2 separate regions of the Homo sapiens genome follow, and region 1 is linked to region 2. Evidence: promoter capture Hi-C in human tissues and cell types (Jung and others, 2019). All regions are on one chromosome and are shown on one strand. The core of a region is centred on a gene start or on the middle of the fragment in contact, and the rest is flanking DNA. Distances in the headings are between cores, read along the strand shown.

Region 1 (5,890 bases), core at 1,227-3,726, 140 kb after region 2:
CCCAAAGCGCCAGGATTACAGGCATGAGCCATGCCGCTGCACTCGGCCTAAGGGGCATAGCTTTCTCATCCTCTGCCATCCTAGGAAAATTTTAAGTATTCATATTAAAATGAAAACTAAACACAATTGTCCATATATGCTCCTTAGGAGTAGAATGCCAAGGACCTCTTAGCTCCTCTGACCTGGGAACTACATTCTCTCTAATGATACATACGACTGGGTTAGAGGTTTGGGCAGCTGCCACCAAGTAAAACCTCTAGAATTTTGCTATGTCACTTTCTGCTAAGGTAGCTTTTCCCATCTACACTAAATAAATAAATCATCCAGGTGATTTATTTTTAACCAATGCAGAGGATTTTTTACTTATCTCCATGGAGTTCAAACATTTCTCCAGGCTGGGTGGGGTGACTCACGTCTGTAATCCCAACACTTTGAAGACTAAGAAGGGGCAGATTGCTTGAACCCAAGAGTTCCAGACCAGCCTGGGCAACATGGTGAAATCCCATATCTACAAAATATAGAAAAATTAGCCAGGGGTGGTGGTCCACACATGTAGTCCCAGCTACTCTGGAGGCTGAGGTAGGAGGATCATCTGAGCCTGGAGACTTGGAGGCTGCAGTGAGCTGTGATGGCGCCACTGCACTCCAGCCTGAGTGACAGAGACCCTGTCTCAAAAAAAACAAACAATAATTCACCAAATCTATTTGGATCTGGATCCTGCCATCATTTTATAGGTAATGCCTCCATAGCACTCACTAAGTGCCAGGCACACTTCTAAGCCCTTTTTATACATTAACACAAATAATCCCCACCACGACCTAATGCCATACACATCATTATGGTCACTATTTTGCAAATAAGAAAACAGTCACAGAGCAGTTCAGTAACTTGTCCAGGGTCACACAGCTAGTCCATGACTGAACCAGAATTTAAGCCCAGGATGTCAAGTTCCAGAATTGGTACACTCAGCCTCAATACTGTGCTGCCTTCAAATATTCTGACAATCTTAGACAGCTTTGGGGATCCAAAAGATTGAGAAGTACTCTTGGGGACCTCTTTTTTTTTTTTTTTTTTAAATACGGAGTCTCAACTCTCTCCCCCAGGCTGGAGTGCAGTGGTACAATCTCAGCTCACTGCAACCTCCGCCTCCTGGGTTCAAGTGATTCTCCTGCCTCAGCCTCCCAAGAGGCTGGGATATTACAGGCACATGCCATCATGCCCAGCTAATTTTTGCATTTTAAGTAGAGACAGGATATCACCATGTTGGCTAGGGTGGTCTTGAACTCCTGACCTCAAGTGATCTGCCCACCTCAGCCCCCCAAACTGCTGGGATTACAGGCATGAGCCACCGCACCTGGCTCCCATTTTTTTTTTAAGACGGAGTTTCACTCTTGTTGCCCAGGCTGGAGTGCAATGGAGCGATCTCGGCTCACTGCAACCTCCGCCTCCCAGGTTCAAGCAATTCTCCTGTCTCAGCCTCCTGAGTAGCTGGGATTACAGGCACATGCCACCACACCCGGCTAATTTTTGTATTTTTAGTAGAGATGGGGTTTCCTCATATTGGTCAGGCTGGTCTCGAACTCCTGACCTCAGGTGATCTTCCCACCTCGGCCTCCCAAATTCCTGGGATTACAGGTGTGAGCCATCACGCCTGGCCCCTGGCTCCTTTTTTTTTTTTTTTTTTTTTTTTTTAAATAAAGACCAAAGGTCCAGAGGCTTTGAAAGGCAAATAGTATTAAGTCAGGATTTGATATCAGGATTTCTTTCATTCTGTTTATTTTCTCATTGCTTTCTACTTATGATACTGTTTCATTTGGTAGTAATAATATTTCTTTCTAAAATAAATTGAAGTAAAAAGAAGTGAGTTGATGTAAGAAAAATGTTACAGATATGAAAAAATCATAATGGTCATTAAAAAATTAGTGAAACTTTGGAAAGACTGTGTTCAGTCAAGTGAAGTGAAGTTAGCTTGCAACCACAAAAAAACCCCTAAGTCTCAATGGTTTGAACAGCAAAGTTAATTGCTCACCTATAGTACACGCCCAGCATGGGTCGGCAGGGGGCGCTCCGCGTTGTGGAACGATTCATATCTATACTTGCTTCCCCAACAAGGGCAGCACTGGCCTTTAAAGCTTCTGCCCAGGTGTGACACAGGTTGTTTCTGCTCACATCTCGTTACCTGAAACAAGTAACATGGTCACATCTCATTTCAAAGGAAGCAAGAAAATGTAATCCCCATCATGTGCCGGAAAGGAGAGAAATAGAATAGTTGAGAACAGCCCTCAGAGAGACTATAAGTAAGGGGGCATAAAAGATGGGTCTAGAGAGATAGGCTGAGTCATGACTCACTGAATTTGTCTGACGTAGATCATGATGGCCCATCCCACCAAGTGGCCAACATTTGTTCCCAGAAAAGGGAGTGTGATGATCCCCCAGAAAGAACACAGTCTGACAACATTATTCTGATGAGCAGACACACCTCTCAGGCTGCCACTCAGGAGTCCTTTTGGGTGGGGAGGTGGGGATGCTGATATTTCCTAAGTGGTTTCAGCTGAACTCTGTGATCTTTTTTTTTTTTTTTTTTTTTTTTTTTTGCCTATTCCCTGAAGGGAGATGAGGCAATTTGGGCTTTGGCTGAGCTAGGGTTTGGTTCTGTCACCACTTGCTATCTAGGGAAGGGTAATAATTGGAAAGGAGAGGAATTCAAGGAGAGGGTCCAGGTGGGTAGGGAGCCTCACACAGGGTTTGGTGATCAGGTGATTGAGAGGCCTCCTTGAGGAGTTTTCAAAGTGCGGTCTGAGGGCACCTGGTATCAGAAGTGCCCAGAAGCTCATTAAACACTTGGGCCAGGTGCTCCATGGCTCCTGCCTTTAATCCCAGCACTTTGGGAGGCTGATTTGCTTGAGGCTGGGGTTCAAGACAAGCCTGGACAACATAGCAAGACACCTCCCCCCGTCTCTATTTTTTAATTAATTAATTTGTTTGTTTATTAATTTATGGACTCTCACTCTGTCGCCCAGGCTGGAGTGTAGTGGCCTGATCTCTTCTCACTGCAACCTCCGCCTCCCAGGTTCAAGCAATTCTCCTGCCCCAGCCTCCCAAGTAGCTGAAATTACAGGCATGCACCACCACACCCAGCTAGTTTTTGTACTTTTAGTAGAGACAAGGTTTCACCATGTTGGCCAGGCTGGTCTTGAATTCTTAGTCTCCAGTGATCCACCTGCCTTGGCCTCCCAAAGTGTTGGGATTACAGGCATGAGCCACCATGCCCCACCTCTATTTATTAAATATTTTCTTTTTTTTAATCTGATGACTAGGCCCACTGTTGGTCCTGGCACCTGGAGGTAGGACCCCAGGCATCTGATTTTTTTTGTTGTTTTTTTTAAGGCAGGGTCTCGCTCTGGCGCCCAGGCTGGAGTGCAGTGGCACGATCTTCACTCACTGGAACCTCCACCTCCCAGGTTCAAGCGATTCTCCTGCTTCAGCCTCCCGAGTAGCTGGGATTACAGGCATGCACCATCACGCCTGGCTAATTTTTTTTTTAATAGAGACAGGGTTTCACCATGTTGGCCAGGCTGGTCTTGAACTCCTGAACTCAGGTGATCCACCCACCTCCCAAAGTGCTGGGATTACAGGCGTGAGCCACCGTGCCCAGCCACCATCTGATTTTTTTTTTTTTTTTTTTTTTTTTGAGACAGAGTTTTGCTCTTGTTAACCAGGCTGGAGTGCAATGGCACGATCCCGGCTCACCACAACCTCTGCCTCATGGGTTTAAGTGATTTTCCTGTCTCAGCCTCCCAAGTAGCTGGGATTACAGGCATGTGCTACCACGCTCGGCTAATTTTGTATTTTTAGTAGAGACGAGGTCTCACCATGTTTGGCAGGCTGGTCTCGAACTCCTGAACTCAAGTGGTCCACCTGCCTCAGCCTCCCGAAGTGCTGGGATTACAGGTGTAAGCCACCTCGCCCAGCTGCCATCTGAATTTTTAATAATGGCCCCAGATGATTCTTATGGACACCAAGATTTGAGAAGCATTGAATGACTGAGAGAAAATTTCTTGTAAGGGTAGAAGCCCAGCACAGTGGTTCTCAGTGGAGATAATTTCAACCCCCAAGGGACATTTATAAATGTCTGGAGATAGTTTTGATTATCACACCTTGAGGGTAGGGAAAAGTGCTGCTGACATCTAGTGGCTAGAGGCCAGACATGCTGCCAGGGACAATGTACAGGACAGTCCCCACGACAAAGAATTCTCTAGCCCAAATGTCATTAGTGCTTAGGTCAAGAAACCCTGGTTAGCCATTAAGAGTTTGAACCTTTCTAAATGTTGGAGCACATACGATTTTTAAATCTTCAATTTTTATTTTATTTTCCAAAATTTCTACTATATGCATAGAATCCTTTTCATTGAATACCTGTTACGCACCGAGCACTTGAAGTTTACATCACTATCAGTTCCTCTTGAAAGACCTTTTCAGTCATTCATCCAACAACTATCCATTAAACACTTACTAAAATGTATTCCAGGCCAGGTGTGGTGGCTCATGCCTGTAATCCCAGCACTCTGGGAGGCCGAGGTGGGTGGATCACCTGAGGTCAGGAGTTTGAGATCAGCCTGGCCAACATGGCGAAACCCCGTCTCTACTAAAAATTAAAAAATTAGCTGGGTGTGGATCCCAGCTACTCAGGAGGCTGAGGCAGGAGAATTGCTTGAACCTGGGAGGCGGAGGTTGCAGCAAGCCGAGATCGTGCCATTGCTCTCCAGCCTGAGTGACAAGAGCGAAACTTCATCTTAAAAAAAAAAAAAAAAAAAAAAAAAGAAGTATTCCAGGCAGAGGGGAAAGTATATGCAAAGGCCCCCAAGACAGGAAAGAAAAACTTTAAAATGGCTAGTATGCCTGCTGCTGATAGGGGTGGGGGCAAGTGGAATGAAATGAGGTTGGACACGGAGGGATATAAAAACAAGGGCGTGCATGGCCTCACAGTGTTAAGTGGGAGTTGTATGAGTTTTGTTATAAATGCATAGGAAGTCATAAAAATTTAAGTAGAAGAGGATCTGAGCCAATGTACATTTGTACAAGATCACCCTTGGCCCCTGAGTGAAGAGTAGGGGGTAGGGAAGCCACAGGAGAAAAAGTGAAGGGGTGGGGTGGAGGCAGGCGGGGGGGGGGGGAGGCGGGGGGGGCGGTGGAGCGGGGGAGATCCCCTCCCCAACCCTGGCAGGTTTAAAAAAAAAAAAAGGGAAGAAGTGAAAAGACTTTTGCAGACCTCCAGAGATGATGCATAAGGTTGGCTGGGGTGGAGATGGAAAGATGGAAAATCTAGATTCTGTTTGGAGGGTGGCAAGAACTGGATTTTCTGATGAACTGGAAGGCATGAGAAACACAACACAAAGATTGTGACTTGCAAGATGTTGGCTTGAATAATTGAGAGAAGGTGGGTGATGATATATGACATGTAGATATGACTATCATTCTCTTTTGACGACTGAGGAAGGGGAGGTGAGTCGTCCTACTTCACAAAGATAGTATATGGGCTCCAGGTGTGTCTAACCCAAAGGTTATAATTTTTCCACACTCCTATATCCACACATTAATTTTTTTTTTTAAATTGAGACAGAGTCTCACTCTATCACCCAGGCTGGAGTGCAGTGGCGCCATCGTGGCTCACTGCAGCCTCCAACTCCTGGGATCCAGCGATCCTCCCACCTTGGCCACCTAAAGCTGGAGTTACAGGCATGCACCATCACGCCCTGCCTATCTTAATTTTCATAATGGGTATGACATTTACTGATAGTAATATCATTATACATGCCCCATACATGCTAACATCTGCTTCCACATGGAAGCAGCACAAAGCCTGGAACCTTCCTCAAAGACCCCCCCCACC
Region 2 (6,111 bases), core at 3,168-5,667:
GAATATTTACCTAGAGAGGAGTGGTCACCACCTGAACCCCATGATCAAGCTTGGCATTATTAGTAGTAGGACAGTTAGACACCAGGTAAGGTGAAATGGAGCATATAGCACCACTCGTGAAATATAATTACTTTCTCATCCCCAGAATGTTCCACCTAAATCTAATCCATCCATTGGATCTAAATACTAGTTTTGGGGAAATATAGGAGAGAGTACAGGAAGTTAAAGGACACCACAGTGAAGCAACGTGACAGATCCCAGAGAGGAACATTGTCCAAAACAACTGGCCCAGTCTCTTCATGAGTCAATGCCATTGGGAGTCAAAAAAAAAAAAAAAAAGAGTGAGGACCATATTAGATTAAAATAGACTTAAGACTGCAGGAACAAAATCCATTACATGGTCCTTGATTGGATCCTGGTTGAAACTACCTGTAAAGACATTTCTGGCAAAACTGGAGAAATTTGAATATAAATATATTTTTTGAGACAGGGTCTCACTCTGTTGCCCAGGCTGGAGTGCAGTGGTATGATCTCAGCTCACTACAACGTCCATCTCCCAGGCTCAAACGATTCCCCCCGCCTCAACCTCCTGAGTAGCTGGGACTACAGGCACATGCTACCACGCCTGGCTAATTTTTGTATTTTTTGTAGAGATGGGGCTTCACCATGTCACCCAGGGTGGCCTCAAACTCTTGGACTCAAGTGATACACCTGCCTCGGCCTCCCAATGTGCTGGGATTACAGGCATGAGCCACCATGCCTGGCCTTCATATTGCTAATTTCTTAATATGAAAATTGTATTTTATGTAAGAAAATGACCTATGTTAGATACAAATTATGTTGATACTTTATAAATATCTACTACTGATGTATTTAGTTGGAGAAATATCATGATGCCTGTAATTTATTTCAAAATACTTCACTCCCCAATTAAACACATATGGCAAGATTTTCACAATACTTATATCTAGGTGATAGATATATGGATGTTCATTGAGTTACTTTCATATGTTTGAAATTGTTTTGTAATAAGAAGAAAAAAATAAAAGCAAACTAAAGACATACCATTTTCTACCCATAGATTCACAAAGAAAAAGTTTTAAAATAGGCTGCGTTGGCAAGGGTGTAGGGAAATGGGCACTTTGGTACAACCTCTTTGAAGTGATGTTTGGCAAAGCCATGCCCTTCCATCCAGCAATTCCGCTTCTAGGAATTTAGCATACAGAGTATATAGAAATATGGGCAAATATATATAAATAAGGATATTCACTGCAGCTTTATCTTTATTATAAAAGATGAGAAACAACATATATGTCCATCAATAGAAGTTGTTAAGTAAATTTTTTGTGGTCTATTCATGTAGTACAGAGTCCTACAAAGTATAGGGTAGACGTGTTGTGCTGATAGGAAACTCTTTCCAAGATGTCTTGCTAAGTGAACAAGCCGAAGAGCAGGCCAGTGTCTGTCTGTCTGTCTTATTGCTGTATCTCTGGTGCCTAGCAACGCACCTGGCACACAGTGGGTCCACAATTAATATTAGTTGAGGGAACGAACACACATCTGAGCATGACTGCTGTGAGTCAGGCTCCCTAAATGCCACCAGTTTCAAGTCACTGATAGGGGCCAGATTTTCCACCGCCATCAAATTTCCATCCAACAGGATGGGCACTCCTGGTCCAACTGCTGGCATGCAAACCCGGGTGCCAGCTATTCTGGGTTTTCTTGAACCTGGAAATCCAGATATTTGTGTGAAATTGCTCATTTTAAAATTTGTCAATAAAATAACACTGGGTCAGGCATAACAGAACATATCTGCAGGGTGGGTCCAAGCCAACACATTGTCAGTTTGCAACTTCTGCATTAGCGCATTTAATTTTTGCCACACTCCCGGAGGCAGTATGTTCAGTAACATAGCACTTGCTGCTATAACAGATACAAACCTCAGTGGCTTCACACAATAGAAGTTTATTTTTCACTCATATAAAGTCCAGCTGGCAGCAGGTGTGGGGAGGAACAAGGAGTTTTATCAACCTTCCCTTGGGGCTTTCAAGTTCCTCCAGGCATTGATATTCAATAGGCGGATGGGAAGAGAGAGTGAAGAATCATGGGGATTTTATGGGCAGCAGCATTCCTCACTTCTGCCCACATTCATTGGCCACAAGTCAGTCATGTTGTCACCTCACCTCAATGCAAAGTGGAGCAGTCCCTGGTGAGTGGCAGCCACTTTCCAGCAACTACTGTGTCCTATGGACTGAGAACACAGATCTCTGGGTGACAGTGATCCATCTCTGCCTCATGCAGTTATCATTATCTCTATTTCACAGATGATGAGCCGAATCTCAGGGAGGGTAAGTGACCTGTGAGAAGTCACACAGCCAGGAGCCCTATCTTACTGCCTCCAATCCAGGGATCTTTCCTCTAGCTCAGTGTTTCCCAGCTGTGTTAGACCATTCTCACATTGTGATAAAGAAATACCCGAGACTGGGTAATTTATAAAGAAAAGAGGTTTAACTGGGTAATTTATAAAGAAAAGAGGTTTAATTGGCTCGTGGTTCTGCAGGCTGTACAGGAAGCATGGCACTGGCACCTGCTTGGCTTCTGGTGAGGCCTCAGAAAGCTTCCAATCACGGTGGAAGGCAAAGGGGAAGCTGGCATATCACATGGTGAGAAAGGAAGCAAGACAGAGTAGGGGAAGATGTGCCACATACTTATTTATTTATTTATTTATTTTTGCTTTCTTAATCTGTTCCTGACCACATACTTTTAAACAACCAGATCTCACAAGAACTCACTGACTATTGCAAGGACAGCACCAAGCCAAGAGGGGTCCACCCCCATGATCCAATCACCTCCTACCAGGCCCCACCTCCAGCACTGGGGACTACATTTCAACATGAAATTTGGTGGAGACACAGATGCAAACAGTATCACCAACCTTGCATCTCATGAGAATCACCTATGGCACTTGTTAAACCTACCAGATTGTGACCCTGGGAGCATACAGGATTGAATTTTCCTTCAAGACATACCATGCCCTTTTTTGCAAAATTGAACAGTGAACAACATCAAAAATTTCACAAGAGTGACAAAAAAAGTATGCTGAACCAGGGAGGCTAATGTAGCAACTGAGACTTGATAGAAAATGTAGCTACAGGCTTTGTGGCAGCCAAGGCAAAAAGGGAAACCCAGGGACCACAGAGCATCTGTTATCTGGTAGAAGGAGGTTCACCGGTTCCTTATGAGCCAGGCTTACAGCCTGGGGGATGAGGTACCCAGGAGTCCTTAGCAGCATGATGGATGGGGGTGGGCGGTCGGGGGTGAGAGGGAGGACTGAGCTTATCTTCCTAGTACATCTATTTGCATCTGTTGTCCCAGGGTCTGCTTCTGTATTTCCTCAATGGTAAATAAATTAAAACACAGTATTTATAGTAACGGAAGTATAGGTGTATTAAGGAACTTTGCTGAAGTTCTTATGTATGTTTAGGGCAGACTTTGTGACAGCAAAGGCATTATGGGCTTTCTTTGGGCTCATCTGGTTGTGCCTTGGTAGAAGATGCAACCTTGAACAAATGACTTGACATTTCTGAGCCTCGCCTTCCTCATCCGTGAAAAATGATTATTGTGCAGATGAAATGAGATGATGCATGTAAGGGGCTCAGGTTGATAAATGGTTGCTGTGCCATTGTTTATATTCTTACCATATTATCATGACCTTATGGCTAGGAGCACAGACTCTGGAGCCAGACTGCCTGTGTTCACATCAGCTCCACCACCTACCAGCTCGATGACCTTGGGCAAGGTCACTTAGCCTCTCTGTGCCTCAGTTTCCTTCTCTGTAAAATGAAGCTAATAGGACTATTGTGAGAGCTAAATGGGCTGATAGTTGTAAAGCTCTTAGAACAGTGCCTGGGCATACAGTAAGTGCTATGTAAGTGTCTGTTAAATAAATCATAGTCTGTTCCCTCTGCCCTTCGAGGCCCTTCAGGGGAAAAGTTAGAAGATAACAGCTTCAAAGCGAGACAAGTAATTTCCAGACACTAATTTCTAAAGGAATAGCTCTCTAGAATCCCAGTTAAGAAGTATTTGCCCCTTAGAAGACTGAGAGGCAGGAAAGCGTTGATGAGGGTGGAATCTTTGGCAGGTGCCTGGCCCAATACACTGAGCTGTTTGGGGGGCACGACCCACTTCCTCGGGCTCCTTCCACCCTTGCAGGGAGCCTGACACTGAGGGCTGGCGGCTTTTCTGGCGCGGGCCAGGGGGAGGAGGAGAAAGGAGCTCCCGGGATCCCCTCGCCCCCTCCCCCAACTGCCCGGTGAGTAATGACATTCACGGAGCGGGGAGGGAGGGAGGAGAGGGGCAGGCTCGGCGAGGCCATGTGATGCTGGGCGAGAGAGAGCCGCCGCGCCGGAGCCTCCTTCTTTCCTGCCTCTGATTCCGGGCTGTCATGGCGACCCCCAACAATCTGACCCCCACCAACTGCAGCTGGTGGCCCATCTCCGCGCTGGAGAGCGATGCGGCCAAGCCAGCGGAGGCCCCCGACGCTCCCGAGGCGGCCAGCCCCGCCCATTGGCCCAGGGAGAGCCTGGTTCTGTACCACTGGACCCAGTCCTTCAGCTCGCAGAAGGTAGAGCCGGGCCGGGAGCCGCCTGCGCCGGTGGCCAGGAAGCTTGGGGAGGGGAGCCCCAGGGCTTGAGGGATCTGAGGGCGGCGAAAGACTGGAGGGGGGAACCTGGGGTTTGGGGGTCCCGGAGGTCGGGGGACGCAAGGGTTCCTTCCAGGACTGCTCACCTGGGAAGCGACAGGCCCTGTCTGGGCCCCAGGAGCACAGTTCTCAATTTTAGGAGCATCCATTCTGCCTCTTTCCCTCCCAGAAACAGCCGGTCTGTTGGGGTGCGGGGCGGGTTGGGGGGGCTGAGAAAAGAGACAAAGGCGAGGGGAAGGGAATGGGCACTGCTGGGAAGGCGGCTTGGTGGGGTGGGAGGTGCTGCTGCTGCGGGGAGGGAGAAGAAGCGCTACTTGGGGTCCAGCCTCGGTAGCCCCCTCTCAGTCGCTCCCTGCACGCTGCCGTCCCGGACACTGCAGGCCCCCAGGTCACAGCTCCTCTGCCCCTCTGTCTGCGGGCCGCCTTCTGGCTAGGGCTTGGAGGGTCTGTCCCCAGTCGTCGCCCACCCCCCACTCCGTGTCTTGAGCTGAGAAGGAAGGAGTTAAACCATCCCCTCACACCAGCTCGGCTCAGCCCATCAGGTCTGTTTTGCTCTTAAAGGCACAGAGTGGCCCCAGCCCCTAAAATGCTTCTAGGACCTAGGGGACCTGAGGGGCAGTTGGAAATCCAACTGGATTCTCAGGGTTCCCGCTTCCTGGGGGTAAGGCTGTGAACTGCACCCCTCAGACAGGGGCGCCTCTAGGGGCGCAATCTCCCACCCTGGGCGGTTGTCCCGTCTCTGGGCCACGGATTCAGCACCATGGCCAGGGCCCAGAGGCAGGTCCTGCAGGGGCCTAAGCGGCACCACTGCCTGACCTTCTGACTCCTCTTCTTCCTGGAAGATCCTTTTGTTCCATTCGTTCATTTTCCAGATGGAAAAACAGAATCCATGAAGAGAAAGGGCCTTGGAACTCAAAGACTTAGATTTGAGTCTTGGTCCAGGCTCATTTCATCATCTGGAAAGCGGGATAGTGATACAACAATAGCCACTTCCAATCCCAACCCCTTCTCAGGGTTGCTGATATGGTTGTTGAAGAAGGGATATAACTTAGGAACTTAGTGTTATAGACTGGGACTACTCAAACTTGAGCGTGCATTAGAGTCCCTGGATGATCCTGGTTAAAACCCAGACTGCTGGATTCTACCCCAAGGATCCTGATTCAGTGGGTCTGGAATGGGGTCCAAGATGCTGCCTTTCCAACAAGCGACCAGGTGATGCTGATGAAGCTGGTCCACCAATCATATTGCCCACTGACTCACTGTGGAGCTGTGGACAGGTCCCTTTGCCTGTCCAAAGCCTCAGCTTTATAATCTGTAAAATGGGGTGAATGCAGTAACTTCCTCAGAGGGCTATTATGAGAGTGAAATGTGATATGATGCACAAAAGTACTGATGATGGCAGTGCCTGG

The links. The method cuts DNA at HindIII sites, captures the fragments that hold promoters and counts their contacts. A contact is called where the count stands out against the background at its distance.
Region 1: a contact is called between a fragment that was not itself captured here and the fragment with the promoter of GDAP1L1 in region 2, in 1 of the 25 tissues and cell types used here (lymphoblastoid cells).

Annotation. Positions count from the first base shown.
Region 1 is chr20:44,382,494-44,388,383 of GRCh38, forward strand. The region is part of intron 1 of HNF4A (hepatocyte nuclear factor 4 alpha); the gene reads left to right. HNF4A-AS1 (HNF4A antisense RNA 1) reads right to left here. Exons shown (of 3, transcript NR_172878.1): 2 at 2,030-2,179. Among named protein-coding and RNA genes, the nearest start is that of HNF4A-AS1, 10 kb to the right of the region's middle. The HindIII fragment of the contact is 4,459 bases long and covers 248-4,706 here.
Region 2 is chr20:44,242,891-44,249,001 of GRCh38, forward strand. GDAP1L1 (ganglioside induced differentiation associated protein 1 like 1) reads left to right here and starts at 4,418. Exons shown (of 6, transcript NM_024034.6): 1 at 4,418-4,624. The coding sequence starts at 4,445. RefSeq lists an enhancer at 4,120-4,918 and a silencer at 5,279-5,573. The HindIII fragment of the contact is 5,443 bases long and covers 1,334-6,111 here.